2 separate regions of the Homo sapiens genome follow, and region 2 is linked to region 1. Evidence: promoter capture Hi-C in 16 types of primary human blood cells and fetal thymus (Javierre and others, 2016). All regions are on one chromosome and are shown on one strand. Each heading gives the region's core, a stretch centred on a gene start or on the middle of the fragment in contact. The rest is flanking DNA. Distances are from core to core; before and after follow the strand shown. Region 1 holds the start of CTHRC1 (collagen triple helix repeat containing 1). Region 2 overlaps LOC105369147 (a long non-coding RNA gene).

Evidence for each region. The method cuts DNA at HindIII sites, captures the fragments that hold promoters and counts their contacts. A CHiCAGO score of 5 or more calls a contact.
Region 2: a contact is called between a fragment that was not itself captured here and the fragment with the promoter of CTHRC1 in region 1, in 1 of 17 cell types (endothelial precursors). The highest score is 5.9, in endothelial precursors.

Annotation. Positions count from the first base shown.
Region 1 is chr8:103,370,220-103,372,919 of GRCh38, forward strand. It overlaps CTHRC1 (collagen triple helix repeat containing 1), which reads left to right and starts at 1,319. Exons shown (of 4, transcript NM_138455.4): 1 at 1,319-1,587. The coding sequence starts at 1,438. RefSeq lists enhancers at 979-1,773, 1,774-2,567 and a silencer at 1,203-1,322. The HindIII fragment of the contact is 4,990 bases long and covers 1-2,700 here.
Region 2 is chr8:103,256,983-103,259,812 of GRCh38, forward strand. The region is part of intron 1 of LOC105369147 (a long non-coding RNA gene); the gene reads right to left. Among named protein-coding and RNA genes, the nearest start is that of FZD6, 40 kb to the right of the region's middle. The HindIII fragment of the contact is 1,528 bases long and covers 580-2,107 here.

The sequences.
Region 1 (2,700 bases), core at 69-2,568:
AAGAGTACTCAAAAGTGAACTTCTACCATTTCCACTGGATATTGATTAACTTCCCTGAGCCTCAGTTTCCTCATTCGTTTATGAGAGTAGCCCAGGAGGCATCTACCCCTCCCAACCCGCCAGGATTGCTGAGAGGACAGAGTACGCGTGCAAGGTTTTGCAATGTGCCAGAGCTTAGTAAGTGTTAGCACTTATGAAAACAGCGTTTATATATCATTTGGGTCATGGGACTCTTGGAAAACCTGATGATACCTATGGTTTCTTCCTGCCTCCGCCCCACCCCCACCTTCCAGCCTCCAAAAATGTCACCTCCAAAAAACAAATAAGGCAGGGCGCGGTGGCTCACGCCTGTAATCCCAGCACTTTGGGAGGCCGAGGCGGGCGGATCACAAGGTCAGGAGATCTAGACTATCCTGGCTAACACGGTGAAACCCCGTCTCTACTAAAAATATAAAAAATTAGCCGGGGCCGGGCGCGGTGGCTCACGCCTGTAATCCCAGCACTTTGGGAGGCCGAGGCGGGTGGATCACGAGGTCAGGAGATCGAGACCATCCTGGCTAACACGGTGAAACCCCGTCTCTACTAAAAATACAAAAAATTAGCCGGGCGTGATGGCGGGCGCCTGTAGTCCCAGCTACTCGGGAGGCTGAGGCAGGAGAATGGCGTGAACCCGGGAAGCGGAGCTTGCAGTGAGCCGAGATCGCGCCACTGCACTCCAGCCTGGGCGACAGAGCGAGACTCCGTCTCAAAAAAAAAAAAAAAAAAAAAAAAAAAAAAATTAGCCGGGCGTGGTGGCGGGTGCCTGCAGTCCCAGCTGCTCTGGAGGCTGAGGCAGGAGAATGGCGTGAACCCGGGAGGCGGAGCTTGCAGTGAGCCTAGATGGCGCCACTGCACTCCAGCCTGGGCGACAGAGCGAGACTCTGTCTCAAAAACAAACAAACAAACAAAAAACAAATAAGACTCGCCGACCCATGCCATAGATTGACGACCCTTGAAGGTGGCTCGTGTACCCAGGTTAAGCCACGTGTCTCTAAAATGTTCATTTAGGCGGCGCTGTGTTACCTGCGGGAATCCCCGACCTGCGGCTCCTGACCACGGGCCACCCCGCCCAGACCCTGCAGGCGGGCTCTCCACGAGGGTCTGCGCAGCCCCGCGGGGGTCCTGACAGGCCGAGCGACTGCAGTAGGAGGGGGCGGGCCCGGCTCTCGGTCCGCCCCCACGCCGGGCTCGGGGTGGGGGCTCGGGGCCTATTACGGGATGGAAGCTCCGGGTGTCGCGGGGGCGGGAGGAATTAAGGGAGGGAGAGAGGCGCGCGGGTGAAAGGCGCATTGATGCAGCCTGCGGCGGCCTCGGAGCGCGGCGGAGCCAGACGCTGACCACGTTCCTCTCCTCGGTCTCCTCCGCCTCCAGCTCCGCGCTGCCCGGCAGCCGGGAGCCATGCGACCCCAGGGCCCCGCCGCCTCCCCGCAGCGGCTCCGCGGCCTCCTGCTGCTCCTGCTGCTGCAGCTGCCCGCGCCGTCGAGCGCCTCTGAGATCCCCAAGGGGAAGCAAAAGGCGCAGCTCCGGCAGAGGGAGGTGGTGGACCTGGTGAGTCCGAGGGAGCCGAGCCGGGACCGCCGCGCTGGTGGAGGGGACCTGGCCGCGCGCCCCACGGGCAGGGCGTCAGTCTGGCTGTTGGGGGTGTCTGTCTGTACAGCTGTGTGTCGTGTGTCTTGCTGCGCCGGGGTGTCATGCTTTTTATTTACAGGTGAAGAAGGACCTGGTTATGCGTGCAGTGAGTCTTGGAACTCAGAGGGGAGACCAAAATGGGAGGCCATCGTGGAGCGGACATGCGATATGGGCCCGGTGGGTCTCCCCGAAGTACAGGGAGTCCCCCAATAATTTCTGGCCCCAGGGGGACCCCTTGGGAAGGGTGGGAGGGATAGGGCGGCAGTGAGAGTAGGATGAGGAGCTTGGGTACGTCCGAAGTGGACCTGGGAAAAACCCTGGCCTCGCTGATCACATGGACCTGGGCCTGGGCCAGGGCGGTGCAACGTGTCCTTTGTTGGGGCTGGTGGCCACGTCTGCCTGCGAGAGAGAATAACAACCCCCACAAAGCATCCGTCCAACTCTTTGTAACTTGAAGACTATGAGTCACGTTGGGTCATCTTCCTAGGGAGTATGGGCTGCAATTTACTTTGTTGGACAACCACAGCTGGGGCTAGGAATGGTTCAGAAGGTTTAAGGCCGGAAAGGGAAATGAAGGGGCCCGGCGCTAACCCTCTAAGGACCTGTTTTGCTTCTGTTTAAACCAAATGGGCAGTCTGTCATTACACACACCCTGGGTCTTCATATGTGGCCGCCAGGTAGGAGCATCACAGTCAAGCTACGGGAGAAAACAGTTTCCAGGAAACTGGAAATGAACGGCCCGAGTGCTTTCCAGGGGCTCATCTGTGGGAAGGTATGTTTGCTTAAAATCCTTCCCTCTAAAAATCAACAAACCCAGTGGAGGGCGGAGAGGTTCTCTGGCCTGTGGTATGAGGGAGCCTTTCAGAGCTACCGTAGTCCTTGGCATATTATAAACTTCAGTCTCACTTGCAGACAAACATGATTTACAGGCATTGCAAGACATAAGTTGGGGCATTTTTTTTTAATTAAAAAGAAAGTTTTGAATTTGTTAAGCTGCCATTTTAAACTGAGCTAATATACCAAGTTCCCTGG
Region 2 (2,830 bases), core at 94-2,593, 110 kb before region 1:
TTGTCATATGTTATGGTTTTTACAGTTTTATTTCTGCTTTTCTTTCCTGCTGCACTTGCAATGAACTTACTGTAATAATTGTATCCATTCATTAGAAGGCACTTTATATCCAACAAATCTTCAAGTCACAGGGTTTGTAAGAGGAAAAGAGTGGTTAAGAATATAATGACTAGTTTCTACTCTTGAATATTTCCAATCTTTCCTCAACACAGCAGCAGGCCCTTTGTGAGATTTAAACCCAAACACGGCTCTCTCTGCTGAGAATCCCTCAATGGTTTCCCATTGCGTTCAGAATAAACACAAGCCCCGTTACAAGGCCTACAATAACAGGCCGCTCATCTAGGGTGTTATGTGAGTTAATAAATGTAAAATTCTTAGAAGTGTGCCTGGCACACAGCAAGTGCTCAGTGAATTCTAGCTGTCCTTCTCCTTCCTTCTCGCCCTTTCCCTCCTCCTCCATGCTTACCTGGCAATGCTTCCCATGACCTCTCCCTTGCCTCACTCTGCTGTCAGCCACCTTCTCCCTCCTCCAGTATGCTGCATTCACACTGGTCATCCTCCAGATTCTTGAACACATCAAGCTTTTGCCTATTTCAGAATCCTTCCCCAAGCGGTTCCTTCCCTGTCATCCAGGTGGCCACTTCTCATCTTTTAGGCCTAAATGGCTCCTCCTCAGAAGAACTTCCTTTTCTGCCTAATCTAAATTGGTCCCCCCTATTATTTTCCCACAGACTAAGTTCTTTTCTTTTAGTGTCCTAATTACAACTTGTAATTGATACTTGTTTGTTTTAAATGTTCAGTGTCATTCTTTCCCATCAGCCCTTAAACTCTCTCTGTTAGGAAAGAGGACAGATGTTTTGTTTGCTAGTTATTTAACACTGTGTTTGCCATCTAGAGGAAACTCAATTAGTATGGAAGGAGAAAAAGAAAAATTATTTAAAAGTAAATTCAATATTTATTAAATGTTTACCATGTGGCTAGGCATTCTACTAAATACTTAGAATGTATTAGCTCCTCTAATCTTTCAAATATCTATGAGCTATGTTATTATCTCTTTTTCACATTTGTAAAAAGTGGAACTCAAAGAATTCATGTAAGTCATACCGGTAATAAGTGTCAGAGCTGAGATTTGAACTGAGGTCTTTGTAGCTCCAAATCATTTGCTTTTCCTCTCATACCAAGTTGCTTCCAGTAACAAGGGAGTGGAAGTATGTGAAATTACACAATATGATAAATAGCTCCTTCTGCCTCATTTATGGCATGTAAAATTTCCCTGAGTAAGTGGTTCAGTTGTCCTTCTGGAATTGAAACATCAATGAGACAATTTTGCTGCCATGTAATGAGCTTTTCCCCGGGCATGTGCTATATCTTTTATCAGCCCAAGTAATACTTCAGGGCTTGTGTACTTACCATGTATTAATTGTATGACTTTAAAATATTGAGTAGTGCTCCCTCAAGGGCATGCTCCCTCAAGGGCTGTGTTTTCTGTCAGGTGCCATTGTGGACTTGGGTTTGTTAAATGAGAAAGTGATCAATTTCCAGAGCAACCAGAAGAATACCCTGCAGAGTGAGCTCAATGGAAAGAAAGCAATCAAGTGTTAAGGGGTAAGGGGAAATAATGGCAAGAGGTTGGGGATGGCGGGGAGATCTATTGGTTCCAAATCAGATGCGCTCAGTCTTAAAATCAGTAACATCTCAAGTTATACCAGTGATTACTCCCAGACTAAAGGCTCTTTGACTCCCATTTCATTTCCCAAATAGTGAGATGTTCTTGAATATCAAATTGAAAATTAGAAAGCCAAGAAAACAAGAGGGAAATAATAATATTTAACATTTACTATGCTAGGTCTTTTACATGAATTAACTTATTTTGTCCTCAAAAACCCTCATGGTAGACACTAATATTATTCCCAATAAACAGATGAGTAAGCTGAGGCACAGAAAGGTAAAATAAGTTGCAGTGTGGTCTTACTAAAAATTGTATTGGATGATGAAATCAGCAAGAATGATGGAATAAGAACCATTGAATATCATCTCCTCTACAAAAGCAACAAAAACACTAGAAAATATTATGTCAACTTCTTCAGAATCCTGGATATTAAACAAAAGCTTGCAACAATTCAGGAAGCATTAATTCAAGAAAAATGACTGAATCTTAACAAATTTTTTTTGACATTTTAACTTGCTTTGTTTCTATGCCTCTCTCCCACCTCTGTGGTAGCCTTGAAAACCAATAGCCCACTGTTACTGTGAAAACCAGAAGCTTCTGGGGGACACACATTAGGGTTGGAGTTCTTTCAAAGCCTCATTTTCAGAGAATTGTCATTGCTTGACCTGTCTGCGAATTCCCTGGAAAACCCCACTTGCAGAGTTTGTCTTTATCTGACCTACTAGAGCTTGCCCAGTGACAACATTTTCACCAAGAGTGTTTATTGAAAACAATCAGTGGCAGTTATATACAATGAAACAGCTATATGAAGCAGCAATAACAATTTGGGTAAGCAAAAAATCGGACCAAAAAAACTTAGAAAAATCTGGGGAATGACATTCCATAGGGGGCTTTGACAAGTTCCAACATATTCCTGGAAATCTGGAAGTCCATGCATGTGTATAGAGCTGTGTACAGGCCCAGGAAATACTTAAGAAAGTCCTAAGCTCATTTCTCTGGCTGACCTTGAGGCTCTGCACAAGCAAGAAGTAGAAATTTGGCTGGGTATAGTGGCTCACGCCTAGAATCCCAGCACTTTGGGAAGTTGAGGCAGGAGTATTGCTTGAAGCCAGGAGTTCAAGACCAGTCTGGGCAAAATAAAGAGGCCTCATCTCTACAAAA